2 separate regions of the Homo sapiens genome follow, and region 1 is linked to region 2. Evidence: promoter capture Hi-C in human tissues and cell types (Jung and others, 2019). All regions are on one chromosome and are shown on one strand. Each heading gives the region's core, a stretch centred on a gene start or on the middle of the fragment in contact. The rest is flanking DNA. Distances are from core to core; before and after follow the strand shown.

Evidence for each region. Contacts are between HindIII fragments. The study calls those that stand out against the background at their distance.
Region 1: a fragment that was not itself captured here is called in contact with the fragment with the promoter of ADAM12 in region 2 in 1 of the 25 tissues and cell types used here (spleen).

Annotation. Positions count from the first base shown.
Region 1 is chr10:126,711,060-126,718,496 of GRCh38, reverse strand. No RefSeq gene overlaps it. Among named protein-coding and RNA genes, the nearest start is that of C10orf90, 44 kb to the right of the region's middle. The HindIII fragment of the contact is 3,528 bases long and covers 1,195-4,722 here.
Region 2 is chr10:126,383,150-126,390,696 of GRCh38, reverse strand. It overlaps ADAM12 (ADAM metallopeptidase domain 12), which reads left to right and starts at 2,220. Exons shown (of 23, transcript NM_001288973.2): 1 at 2,220-2,639. The coding sequence starts at 2,552. The HindIII fragment of the contact is 8,947 bases long and covers 692-7,547 here.

The DNA.
Region 1 (7,437 bases), core at 1,709-4,208, 330 kb before region 2:
CGGGGCCAGCCTCCTGACCCCGTTGACACAATTTTTACAGACGGTGAAAGATCTGCCAATGTGGGTACTGTGGGTGTGTTCTTGTGTTTTTGTTCAATTCCATTCTGTCCTATTACGGCCGCATTCATAAGGAATCTAGAAAGAGCCAGGCACTGGGAAAACAAAGGGGATCAAGACACTGTCCTTGCCTTCAAAGTGTTGGTTCTGGGGAGGGCTACAGAAAAACCCATAATGCTGATAGAACAATATAACACTTGGGTGCTCTCAGCCAGGGGCTCTTTCTGCATAGCCTGGAGCGATGGGTGAAACAGGAAAGGAATCAAGGAGGGCTCCAAGGTGGAGGTGACCATCAAGCTGGGCCTGAATTGGTGAATAGGTGATTAGCAGGTAGACAGATTAGAATAAGAGTGGGGAGGAAAAGCCAGACATGGAAGCCCGAGTGGCCCAGTGGGCATTGAATGGGACAGGATGGAGAATAGTTGGGTGGCAAGGGGATCAGAGATGAGGTGGGAAAGTTAGGCGGGTTACAAAAAGTCCTGGGTGCATTCCTACTCTTTGTTCGTTATCTCATGTATTAGTTTTCTATGACTGCTGTAACCAATTACCACAATTTAGTGGCTCAAGAAATACAATTTTATGATCTACCAATCTGGCTGTCAGAAGTCTGAGATGGGTTTCCTGGGGTGGAGATCAAGGTGTTGGCAGGGCTGTGTCCTTCCGGAGGCTCAAGGAGAGAATCTCTTTTCTTGCCCTACCCGGCTTCTAGAGGCTGCTGACTTCCTTGGCGGAGGGCCCCCTCCATGCTCTTCAATGCCACAACTTTGAGTTGCTTTTGGGTTGAGTCCTTTTCACACTGTCTCTCTCTGATTCTCTCTTCTACTTCTAAGGACCCTTAAGAGTACATTGGGCCACTGAAATAATGCAGGATAGTTTCCTATTTTAAGTTCAGCTGATTAGTAACATTAATTCGTCTGCAACTTCAGTTCCCCTTTGCCGTGTCACATAGGATATCCACAGGTTCTGGGGATTAGGACATGAGCAACTCTGGGGGCCATCATTCTGCCCTTGCATCTTCTAATCACTGAAGGCTTTTAAAATATGGAGCAACAGAGTCAGATCAGAGTTTCTGAAAGGTGATCTTGGGAGCAGGTTTACCAACAGAACCACAGAATTCCTTTTTCTGCCCCCATGGTAGACAAGACATCATTCATTTTTCTATATTCTTATTTTAATGTCACTTTATGACATTTTATAGAGAAATGTGGAATGGCAAATTTAGAGGTTCACATTTTGATGGTTATTCAACTGTGTTTTCTCTACATTTTATTTATATCTTGCCTCAGCCCACAGAGAGTTTGATGTAACTTCCAAAAATGCAAGAAATGCAAGCTGCAGGAAGAGCAGTTGAGGAAAACAAGAAAAGGAAAATTTTAAGAAGGAAAAAAAAATGAAGTTATAGAGGGCTAGTTCACTGCTAATGGAAGCGAGATTCATTAGTGTGGTTCCAAACTTCCTAGCTCACAAAGCAGAGAGGGAAAAAGACAGTACGATAAATACGGGTGTACAGCTGAGTTGTTTAGGAGATGCCTAGCCTTTTCTATGGCTGACACCTGAGAAGAATTTCTGCTTCAGGTGCTCACAAAGCAACAGTGTTGGCTGTTGCAAACTTTGTCCTTGAAAGCAGCTCTGCTGGAGACAGAAATGACCTTGTATAAAAGCCAGTCTCTCATTGAAGTATCCTTCAATGCTAGCAGATGACCCAATACCAAAGCATATTTCAGTGAAAGATCCCACAAAGGGGGTGGGTGGCATTGAGGGGGTAGTGGACATTTTGGTTATTGCCCCAAACTTAGTGACTTAGTATAACCAGTCCAATTTATGATCTCTACCAATTCTGTGGGTTGGACTGGGCTCAGCCAGGCAGTGGCGAGGTGGTGTCATCCATGGGCTCAACTGGATGTGGAGCATGCAGCATGGCTCCCTCCCACACCACTGTCAGCTGTGGGCTGGGGTTCCATGCCTTGATTCTCATCACACAGCAGCAGGGTTCCAAGAGGACCATCCTCTTGGATGTGAAGGGAAAGGCATAGGTGTTTTAAGGCTCAGCCTCAGAAATTTTACATCATTTCCACCACATTCCATTGGTAAGAACACATTGTGAGGTTAGTCCAGATTCAAGAGAATGGTGAAATGGCGTTGTTGTCTGGGGTAAATACCTGAGATTCGTTGCCTCGCACCATGGAAAAGTAGGACATGGACACACAAAGGGTGAGGCTCAGAGTGGAAGTTTAATAGGCAAAGAGAAGAGCAGGGCTCTCTGTAGCAGAGAAGGGTCCCAGAAAAATGGGTTGCTGCTTCCGTGGTGAAATGCAGCAAGTTTTATAGATTAGCTTGAGGAGGTGGTGTCTGATTTACATAGGGCATGAAAGATTGTTTGGACAAGGTGTGCCATTTGCATAAGGCGCAAAAAATTGGTTAGAACTAGGTGTGTCATTTGCATAGTGCGTGAAAATCTGGCTACCCCACCCTAATCTTTTATTATGCACATGGATTCTCTACCTGGCTGGCACCATGTTGCCTATTCTCTTACTTTACACATGGTTACAAAGAAAAGGGAAGATGGAGCCTCCATGTTGAACATACCTGGTCCCCAGGTAGCCCTTTTCTATTGGCACAGCTGCCAGCATTCACCTGTGCAAACTTCCAGTTTGCTTGTCTATGTCTGCAGCTTGATTTTTCAGGCTGCTCTTTGTTAGAAAAGAAATGATTTTGGGGGCTGCTTTTCGTTAAAAGGGAAATTTCGCCAAGGACTCTATTGCCCTTCCTATCTGCCTAAATAATTACTTTCTAGCTCCTATATCAATGGGAAATTGACTCCACCTCTTGACAGGAGAAATAGAAAAGAATAGGTGGCTGCCATGAATCCATCACAGGAGGCAGGACAATGGCCAAGTGTGCAGCTCCCTGACAAGCTGGCATGATCCAGGGGTAAAATTGGGAAAAGCTTGAGAACTGGATAGGCAGCCTTGGTGTATCTTTTCAGCAATCCCCGTAAGCATCAGCCACTGCAAATGGTCCTCTTGATAGAGATCAGTGAGTGGAGAGGGCAAGGTTTGTTTCCTGCCCAGGATATGGTGGATGTTATTTTATACTGCAAATTAAGGGAAGAGTTGTATATTTCAAGAGCCAAGCTGAAGACGAGTTTTCTTCTATTCTGTATTTTGTATTATTCAATAACGAATTTCAGTTTAGTGGGCCATAGGATGTTCCCAATCTAACAAAACTGGCTCTGGTTAATCATGGACTTGCCTAGCGATATCTGTGGTGTCTCTGCATGGGGTTAACTTGGCTAAACTGAAGTTATGTTTTTTAGACTCTTCCTTCCTGTATGGCCCCAAGTGAAAGTTGGTGAAGAGATACTTCTGTGAGATCTGAAGGTTATAATGAGAAGTCTGTCTCCATGTTTTGATGTGTCTCCATGTTTTGATGTTTGACTGCTGACAGCTCTAAGCCTCGTTCCTCCCTCTTCTTTTTGATCCCCGTAGCTGGACAAGCTGATGGAAAAGCCCACTTCTCTTTCCCTTTAGTGCAGGAAATTCAAACCACACAAGCCTTTGCCTGTGCTATAAAAGGAGCTCCCCGCTGGCCCCACCCCCTAACCACATAAAACCCCCGATCGGGGAAGAGGTTCCCCGATCCCTCAAGCCATGTCAGGCCTGCTGGGGAGGCCTGCCTACTCCCCCCAGAGAGCTCAATTATGTGAGCAATAAACTTTTTCATACCAGCTTGTTGTGTGTGCATCATCAGTCTCCACATTGGAACCAAGCTTTGAGTGGGGGTCTGTCTCTCTTGGCGGGCAGCTGTGACAGAGATGGAAATGAAGCTGCCAGTAGGACTCTTTAAAGACTGTCCTGGTTAGAGGCTGTGAGGTTCCAGCAGAGTTCAGCTGATTTCTGCCCTCCTCTGCTCTGTATCAAGCTCTTGACTGGTGGCCCTACTGATGGATGCAAACTCAGTGCAAAGGCTGCAGCTTTCCGTGACCTTCTCTGCACACTCTGGAGTTTTTCTTAGGAGCTGGGGAATGACTCTTCTCTGATCTACCAACTTCCCCTCGGAACTTTATTTCTTCAGCTTTTCTCACAATTGTGTAAAGCCTCATCCTATAAATCCCTTAATCCAAAATACTCAAAATGTTTCTGCTCCTTTGATTAAAACTTGACTGATAAAATAACTCTTCAGGCATTACTTTTTTTTTTTTTTTTTTTTGAGACAGAGTCTCGCTCTGTTACCCAGGCTGGAGTGCAGTGATGTGATCTCGGCTCACTGCAACCTCCTCCTCCTGGGTTCAAGCAATTCTTCTGCCTCAGCCTCCCAAGTAGCTGGGACTACAGGTGCCTGCCACCACGCCCGGCTGATTTTTGTATTTTTAGTAGAGATGGGGTTTCACCATGTTGGCCAGGCTTGTCTTGAATTCCTGACCTCAAATAATCCACTTGTCTTGGCCTCCCGAAGTGCTAGGATTACAGACGTGAGCCACTGTGCCCGGCCTCAGACACTACTTTTAAGATTGGCTACAGACAGCACCAGTGTGTGCTTGATGGAACTGAATTGGAGTCCAGAGAGGTAAAGTAAGAAGTCCCGGACCACATGGAGAACATTGGCCAGTAAACTCCAGGTCTTCTGACTCAGCTTTCTTCCACACCACACTGGGTGTCTCGTGGATGCCTCGTGTGTGCCAGATGCTGTGAGAGGATTTATGTAGGATTCCAAAAGGAAGACATATTCCCTGATTTCCAAAAGCTCACCCCTCTGTTGCATTATTGCATATGGTTAGTAGATGAAAATGACAACTATTACTGCACACGTGCATGCACCCCCCCACACACACACAGACACCACTTCTCAGTTTACTAACATTTGTCACACCCAGTATCTCAGTATGTCACAGGCTAAGTGACCAGAGAATGGATAATTGATATTATGGCGGACCAGGAAGTGGTACATTCTTACTCAGTGGGTTAATGTGCAGGGGTTAGGAAGGGAATGTTAGTGTGTGACCTGCCTTTAATTATTCTCCTGGGCTTATGCACTGGGTGTATTATAACCAGTTAGTATTCAGTTCCCTAGATCATCCTGAGCAACCAGCCATGTGCAGGGTACCATGTTTCACTGGTGGAAGTGAGCTTAGAGCAATGATCCCCAACCTTTTTGGCACCAGGGACTGGTTTCATGGAAGACAATTTTTCCATGGATCAGGGTAGGGGGATGGTTTTGGGATGATTCAAATGCATTACACTTATTGTGTACTTTATTTATATCATTATTACATTGTAATATATAATGAAATAATTCTACAACTGATCATAATATAGAATCAGTGGAAACCCTGAGCGTGTTTTCCTGCAACTAGATTGTCCCACCTCGAGGTGATAGGAGACAGTGACAGATCATCAGGCATTAGATTCTTATAAGGAGAGGGCAGCCTAGATCCCCTGCATGCTCAGTTAACAGTAGGGTTTGTGCTCCTATGAGAATCTAATGCCACTGCTGATTTGACAGGAGGCGGAGCTCAGGTGGTAATGTGAGCGACAGGGAGTGACCGCAAATGCAGATAAAGCTTTGTTCACTTACCCACCACTCACCTCCTGCTGTGCGGCCTGGTTCCTAATGGGCCACAAACTGGTACTGGTCCGTGGCTGGGGAGTCAGGGACTCATGGCTTAGAGGATGAGACTGGCAGTCTGAATCATGTTTTTGAGGGAAGCTCTTGTTCCTTCCAGTGATGACAAGTTCTCTGGTAACTCTTTAGTTTGAATAATTTCAGACTTTAAAGTAAAAGAAAACGATACAAAAATTATCCAATACCTCCTTACCCAGATTCACCAATTGTTTACATTTTATTCTCATTTGATTTATCATTACCTATCTATTAACAATATTTTTCTGAGCCATATGAAAGTAAGTTGGAGACATCACTCCCTTTTACCCCTAAATTCTTCAGTGTGTATTTTCTAAGAGCAAGACATTCTCTTACATTATCACAGTACTATTAACAAATTCAGGACACTTGCCATTGATATAATACTATTATCTAAACCACAGTCCATATTTATCATTCCTTCAATGTCCTTTGTAGTTTTTTCCCCAAGGCCTGGACCCAGTTCTGGACCACTCTTGCATTCAGTTTTCATGTCTCTTTAGTCTCCCTTAATCTGAAGCAGTCTCTTGTCCTTTTTATCATTTCCTTGACCTTAGATATTTTCAAGTTATTTTATGGACTTTCTCAGTTGAGGTTTGTTTGATGTTTTCCCACGTTCATATTCAGATTCAGCAGTTTTAGCAGAAATACACAAGAAACAGTACTCTGTCTTTCATAGCACATAATATCAGAAGGCATGTGATATTTGTTTGTCTCAATATGTGCGACGTTAAGTTTGATCACTTGGCAAAGGTAGAATCTGCCAACTTTCTCTATGTAAACTTACCATTTTCCTTTGAAATTAATAGGCAATGTAAAGGGAGATACCTTGAGACTATGTAAATATCCTGTACCACCTGCAACTTTTATCCACTAGTTTTAGCACTCATTGATGATTTTCTAACCCCCCTAAGGCCTTTATATTTATTAGTTGGCACTTGGCAGAAGGGAAAAGCTTTTCTTTTTTTCCTTGCTTACTGTATGTATTCATCTACTTGTTTACGGACTCATGTATTCTTATTTTATTTGATGAGTTACTAACCATTACTAATATTATAAATTTTGGTGCTCAAATTGTCACAGACTTAGTCACTGAAAGCTCTGTGTGGCTCCTATGTCCTCTTGATATGTCCCCATCATTCTTTGAGCAATTTCTTGCTTTCTGGTACAATATGATGCCACAGTCTTATTTGTATTTTACTTGTCCCATCCCTGAGATCAGCCTAGGATTCTTTGTTCTTTTTAGTGAAGAATGGTATTTAGAAGCCAAAATCTAAACAGCAGATATGCTCGTTGCTACTGGTGTGTCACTGATTCTAGATCTTCTCAGTGGACAGAGCTAAGAAATGCATGCATGCATATACATAAACATACAAATACATATACTTCGAGCACATATGTATGCCAATATGTTTATTTTTATAGATATTCTGTGTGTGTATATATGTGTATTTGTGCATAGACACACATGCGTGCACACACACACACATACATGAATACATGCGTATATGCATCAGTGCATAATGACCACTCCAATTCCAATCTAGCACCATGGGGTACACCCTGATTTTGCCCCTTTCCCTGTCTGTGACCTTTTTTCCGATTGTTAGATGCCTGGCTCTGTGTAACCTACAGCATCTTGTTCATCTCCTAGCTCTTTGCTAAATTTCGCAGGCTTATTCTGTGTATGCTGAGTCCAGCTGTTGCTAAAGAACCAGAGGCGAGCTCCCACTTCCTCTC
Region 2 (7,547 bases), core at 971-3,470:
AGGGATCAGGTGGGTTGGGAGACATTGCATTATTTCACCTGGTGCTCACAACCACCTGGGAGGTTTGTATTTTACCTTCACTTAACAGCTGCTAAAACTGAAGGTTGGAACTCAGCCTTAAAGAAACAGGCTTTATCTTTAACAGATCTGAGGTTGGGCTCTGACCTACTTCACTGTGTGGTGGTGGGAAAGCTACATCTCTATGCTGCAGTTTCCTCATCTGTATATTCAGGACTTAAAAAATGAAATAATGCAGGTGAAAGACGTTAGCACAATACTCCGATTATACGAGGTATGTAATGAATTATGAAGTAGTAAATAGTCTGTTTTCGTGCTGCTGATAAAGACATACACAAGACTGGGTAAAATTATACAGGAAAAACGTTTAATGGACCTACATTTCCACATGGCTAGGGCAGAAGACATGAAGGGGCAAGTCATGTCTTACATGGATGGTAGCAGGCAGAAAGTGAGAGAGAGCTTGTGGAGGGGAACTCCTCTTTTTAAAACCATCAGATCTTTTGAGACTTATCCACTACCATGAGAACAGCACAGGAAAGACCTGCCCCCATGATTCAATTACCTCCCACCAGGTCCCTCCCACAACACATGGGAATTCAAGATGAGATTTGGGTGGGGACACAGCCAAACCATATCAGTAAACAAGCCTAATCATTATTAACTAGGTTAAGTAACTAGCTCACACTGTCCAATAATGATGATTTATCAGTTTGATCAGAAAGAAAAGTCTTTGAAGGCAAGAGGCTTTCTCGTTTAGTTTCCCAAGTTCTAACATAGGGTTGCTCATGTAGATTGACTGAATGAATGAACAAAAGAAGTACACTGCAACGCTGGTTGGTAGTACGGTTAGATATGACACAGGGCTTGAACCAGGCCTGGTTTCCAGATCTGGTACTGAGATATGGCAGCATTGGGAAGGGGGCTGGAGAGCCTGTGCTTCCCACTAAGGTTTTTTAAAAAGAAAGTCCTGCACCTTGTTAGGAGGATCGACCTGGGTTTTGGGAACACTGCAAAACCTGCCGTGGGAGGGAACTCCTGAGAAAACTCCTCTGCAGTGGGAAGAGATGGTATGGAAGGCAGCTTCCTCAAATGCTGGATAACCGCCTCCTAGGAGTGGGTGCTCCGTCAGGAATCGGTGCGAGGTCGCAGGACCAGGATGGAATTTCTGCAGGTGGTCCTAGGTCTGAGCAGCACAGTAGAATCACCTGAGGCTTTGAAAACTATTGAGCTCCACGCATTGTGGGAAACTGAGTTAACTGGTGTCTGGGGCTGGCAATGTCTTTAACTCTTACTATTCTAATAAGTCCCCAAGGTTGGGAATCATGGTAACCCGCAGGGTGGGCATCAGCCATCCTCCATAGCTCCAGCCATTTCTGTCTGTGCGGGCCCCCTCGCTGCTGCTTTTCATGGTCTCCCTGAGGGCCGAGCGAGGCTGAAGAGGTGGGGTCAGCCCGGAACAAGGATGAGAAGGCAAGGCGCACCATTCTTTCATTGGTGTTTCTCCAAACACCCTGGGCTCCCCTGGCCTCACAGCCTGGAGAGTCTCATTCTGAAAGCGTAGGAGGGCGCCCGGGAATCTTTTTAACAAGCCAACCCAGGTGCTTCTTACAATCAGGAAAGTTTGGGGAACGTCACTGTACACCCTTTTCTGGGTCCAGGTCATGGAATGGAAACGTGAGCCAATCTATCAACGTAAAACCTAACACTGTTGATCAAAAGTAACGCCCAGGTGTCTTGTGCCTGCGAGTCCAAGCTTGTTTCTCGGGCGAGAGATGCCCCTTTGGGCGCTTAGGGCCGGGCGGGGTCGCGCGCCGGGCTGTGGGCCGCGGTGGAGACCTGACCCGCACTCCGAGGGTTCCCAGAGAGCCGGGGAGCGAGTAGCAGAGTCATCGTTTCCAGCTTCAGCCTGAAAAGCTGGACCGTGCCGCCGCATGTGCGCTTGGCAGCCGGGCGCCCCGGGCCCTGCGGCCACATCATCCTGGGGCGGGGACGTGTGCGCTCCGGGCGCCCGGACGCCACTGAGCCACGTCTGAGCCGCCCACCCTCGGGGGTGAGCGAGCCGCGGCTCGGGGCGGGACCCTGGCGGGGGGACCCGAGCGGTCTCTAGGACCCGCGGGACGCCGCCAACTGGCGGGGGTGCGGGGGAGACAATAATTTGTTCCGCGGTAATAAGAACGGTGACTGCTGGCCGTGGATCCATTTCACAGGCCTGCCTTCTCTCACTAACGCTCTTCCTAGTCCCCGGGCCAACTCGGACAGTTTGCTCATTTATTGCAACGGTCAAGGCTGGCTTGTGCCAGAACGGCGCGCGCGCGCGCACGCACGCACACACACGGGGGGAAACTTTTTTAAAAATGAAAGGCTAGAAGAGCTCAGCGGCGGCGCGGGCGCTGCGCGAGGGCTCCGGAGCTGACTCGCCGAGGCAGGAAATCCCTCCGGTCGCGACGCCCGGCCCCGGCTCGGCGCCCGCGTGGGATGGTGCAGCGCTCGCCGCCGGGCCCGAGAGCTGCTGCACTGAAGGCCGGCGACGATGGCAGCGCGCCCGCTGCCCGTGTCCCCCGCCCGCGCCCTCCTGCTCGCCCTGGCCGGTGCTCTGCTCGCGCCCTGCGAGGCCCGAGGTAAGTCGCCGAACTAGGGCGGCTCGCTGCCCGCCCCGCCGAGGGCACCGCACGCTGCGCCTGGGCGCGCCGAGGTCCAGGGCTGCCCCGAGGGGCGACGCGCCCCGGCGCATCTCCGGAGCCCCGGGGCTTGCGCTTCCAGCGCGGCGAGACCGACCCCCCCCCCCCAGGTGCCAATTCCTTGGGGAAGGGCGACACTTGGCCCGCAGCCCCACAGGAGCCAGTACCTGCCCCGGAGGGCACAGCCTCGGGACCGCTCCCCCGTCCTCACCCTCTTGGGTGACATTTGCAGATGTCTCTGTATCTTGACATTTACACGTGTCACTCGGGACGATGCGTGTCGGGTCCTCTTGCTGGCCCTATCCCGCAGTGAATATCCCCACCCCAGGCTCCGGGCCAGCCCTTCACCAGGTTTCCTTTCCAGCCCCGCCTCCCCCGCTAACACACTTAGGGGGGCGCGCAGCGGCCCCGCAGGTGAGGCAGCCCCCTCCTCCGCAGGTGTGCCTGCTGCTCTCCACAGCAGGCTCTATTTTCATAAACTGACTCTCTTACCTACTTCTTTAGTTTCCTCTCTGCCCCTCTTCCTGGCTTCCAGGTCACTCCCTAGCTGTCAGTCGCAGGCAAACTTTAGCGGAATTCTCCCTCCTTCCTCCACTCAGTTTCTCCGCCGTAAATAATCGCCCCCATCAACTTGGTGCACAGCGAGAACTTACTTAGTTTAACGTACTTAGTTTTACAGACTTAGGTTTTCCCGAGTTGTAGCCCCTTAAAATCGGGCACCTGTGGCTCCCGTTTGCACAGTGAGGACTCACCCAGCAGGTGCCTTTTTAAAAATCCGGCAACTTCCCCGGGTCTCCGCCGCCGCCGCCTTCTTTCTGCCGCCCGGGGCGCTGTCGGTCCACCGATGAACGACTTCCCTTGGCCGCAAGCTCTCAAGTTCTGTGATTCTATATAACAGGCATTTATTTTTCAACAACTGGCCTAAATCACGAACCGTTACCACTTTATGATACGTTTTATTTTGCGATTGCCACTGCTGCCCTCCGCCCCCACCGCGTCTACTGTAATGTGGCTAAAACCCAGTTCTTGTTAAAAGCCACACTGCGAAGACCAATTCGGGGATAAATGATTAAATACAAAGATTGCACAAAGCAATGAGAAAGTCAAGAAAGAATCCTGCTGAGGGTTTAAAGAACTCTACGACCTGTAGTGAATTGTGCTTTGAAAGACTTTTAAACAAATTGGTCCTTTTGAATGTTTATTAAGAAAGAACTTTTTAAAAAACGGAAAGTGTCTCAAAGTGTGCCTGACATGGTCTTTAACTTGGCACGTGCTTTGTACACATAAAGAGAAGTCTACTGAGCAGGGACAAATTTTTTTTTTGGAAGAAAATGTTTATTAAATCCAGCTAATAATGGGAAATTATTTCTTGTGTGTGTGGGCGGGGGAGGACTTTTACTATTTTATGAGTTCAGCTTTGGTAGAGAGAGTGTTTCCTTAAGACAGATATGACCCAAAATAGAAAACCAGGGAGGCCTAAGCACTTTGAATGGGTTACCTATTGTGATATATTCCAGGATTCACTGCTTGTTTACCCTTAGATTCTCAGTATCAAGTCTTCAATCAATCAGTGCCCCAAATCATACCATTGAGGCCGTATAAAACGCCAAACATATAATGAAACATTTCTTTGCATTGGCAAGAGAAAAGGAGGAATTACTACCTGTTGAGTCTGAGCATATTCTGAGTTTCTCCCTAGCCTTGTCTGTACCCTGAGCCCTGGCACAGTTGCCTACTTGGTACTTTCTGGGGCAACTCGGCCTAACAAGTCCAAAACAGAACCCTAGATCCCAGACTCTCTAGTTGCAAATCATTCCCTCCCCAGCCTTCCTGAACCCAGTAACAACCTCCTCTGCCTTCTCCACATGCCTTGTGCTGACATGCAGGAAGTCATCCCTGTGTCCCTCTTTTTACTCCGTAAGCCACCAACCTCCTAAGTATATTCCCACCTACCCACTTCCTTACATCCCGAAGTGTGCCTTTCCCAGTCCAGGCCACATTATAGGAAAAATCTCTTCTGCAGAAGCCTCTTATCCCTCTTACCCAACGGGCCTACTGGCTTTTCACCTTATCCCTGCATGGTATATTTTCCTCCACAATAGAGCCAAAGTTATTATTTTCAAACATGAGTTAGAGCATTCAAGTTTCCTGTCTAAAACTCCCCAGTGGCTCTCTAGCACCCTTAGGAAAGAAAATCCAAACCTCAGCATGACCTAATTCCTGTTTTCCTTTCTGATCTCCTTTCTTACCATTCTCCCTTTGCTCACCCTACTCCAGACACACTGCCTTCTCTTCTTTTCAACTACCCAATATAGTAGTGCCATCATTAAAAAAAAATTCAATGTTTGCACTAAGAAGACTTTGCAAATACTTTTCACTGTTTTGCCGTGCAGTGTTTTATGGCATTTCATCCCTCTTGTAACTTTTTGCTTTTCCTAGAGTTAATGATTGCCTTGTCTTGATTTTTGTTTGCTTTATTTTCTGTGCACCAAGCTGTGATATTGTGATATAATAAGAAATATGTCTCTGCCCCTGGTTCCTGGCACAGAACTCCTAAAATCCTTGGAATCTCTGGGGTATTAAGAGTGTCTTTTGTATGCTAATGAGCTTGTTAAGGCATGATTAGAGTTGGGACTTTTAGTGCCACCTCCCTTGCAACCTCCAGGGAGGGGAGACGGATTGAAGGTTGACTTGATCGCCAATGGTGTAATTAATCATGGCTGTGTAATTAGGCCTCCATAAACCCCCCAAAGGACAAGGTTTGTAGAATTTCCAGATTGCTGAGCAAATCAAAGTTCCTGGAGGGTGGCGTATCTAGAGAGGACACAGAAGCTCTGTATCCCTTTCCACATTCTCTGCCCTTTGCATCTCTTCCAACTGTTTTTCATCTGTGTCCCTAATTACATCCTTCATTAATATAATAAACTGGTAAATATAAGCAAGTGTTTTCTGTGGTTCTGTGAGCTTACCTAGCAAATTAACTGAACCTGAGAAGGGGGTTGTGGACCCCCAACTTATAGCTAGTTGGTCAGAAGTATAGGTGTGACAACCTACTACTTGTGATTGGCATCTGACATTGGGGGGAAGTCTTGTGGGACTGAGCCCTTAACCTGTGTGATCTGATGCTTTCTCCAGGTAGATAGAGTCAGAATAGAGTTAAATTGTAGGACTCCCAGTTGATCTCTACTGAAGAACTGGTGGTTGGTGGGGAGAAACTCCCACACATTTGGGTGACCAGAGGTGAAACATTCGGTACTGAGAGTGAGAGTAGGGAGAATACTTGGTTTTTGGTTTTTCCCATCCCTTACGCAACCTCTATTTTACTTCCACACTTTCTGGAAGAACTATCAACCTCCTTTCAATATGATCCAACACATCAGGTAGTCTAGCCATGATTTTTTTTTTCCTGATGTCATCTTTCCTAGAGCCCCTCATCCTCCTGTTCCAATGTGACTCACGGGTTACTTTTTAGGCATACATTACAGCTGTTATCTCAGGACTACCCTTATTACCAAGACGCTAAGAATTCCTCTTGCATCCTTCCTGTGTTGAATCATCTGTATTCTGAGCACTGTAAATTTTTCTTAGTTCATTCCTCATTTCTGTGGAGCACGTTTTCCAGTAACTTCCTGAGGATGGGTGTTGGGAAGATACAACTTTTTTTGATAACTTGTGAATATGTCAGGGATGCTTTCAGCTGCAAATAACAAAAAAACATGACAGCAGCAATTTTTACAAGCTCGTATTCTTTACAAGCAGTTGCAAAGTAAGTATTTTGGTGGCTGGTGTAACTGGTGTGTCAGGTCACTGATGTGATCGGGGACCCAAGCACTTTCTTTTATTTCTATCTGCGATACGTAGATGTTGACTTTTGCCTTTATGCTTACTTCCTCATGGTCTCATGATAGCTGCTGTACCTCTTGGCATCATATCTGCATTCCAGGCAGTAATACAGCAGAAAGGACAAAAGGCAGAACCAGTCAAATCTATTTTCATCAGGAAAATAATATTTCCATAAGCGTTTGTAGTAGATTTTGTCTTAGATATCATTGGCTAGACTGTGACCCAGGGCCCCTGCTAGCTTGTACAGAATACTAGAAAAGTAAATATTTTTAACTATGTACATTGCTGCTTCAAACAAAACAGTTCTGTGAGTAAAAACAAAGGTTGGAATGTGTCTCTGGCATACCTTGTATAAAATATATAGATAAACACACATTCATTCATTCCACCCTTGATTGCTAGTTTGTTTAGGTATAAAATTCCAAGAAAGAAATCATATTTTCTCAGTATTTTATAAGGCATTTCTTCAATGTCTCTATGGCCATTACTGCTTGAGAAGTTGATGGTATTCTGCTTGTCAAACCTTTAAATGTAGTCTTTTTTTCTTTTTGGAAGTGATTATCTTTTTTCGTTGTCACTAGTATTTTTGCGTTTTATGATTATGTGCTTTAGCAATGCTCTTATCAGTAATTGTTAGGAACTCAGTGGGCCCCTTCAGTTTGAATATTCATGTTGTCAAGTTTTAGTATACTTTCTTATATTCGTTCTTCAATTATTTCTTCCTCACTGTTTTTACCACAGCTTTTCTGAAACTGCTATTAGCTGAATGTCCCAGCCTCCTGAAAACATCCTTTAATTTTCTTATCTATTTTTCATCCCTTTACATTTTTGTTCTACTTTCTGGGACAGTTATTTAATTTCATTTCCCAACCCTTCTATTTAAATTTTTTGGCTGGGCACGGTAGCTCATGTCTGTAATTCCAGCACTTTGAGAGGCTGAGGCAGGAGGATTGCTTGAGCCCAGGAGTTCAAGACCAGCCTGGGTAATATAGTGAGCCACACCCC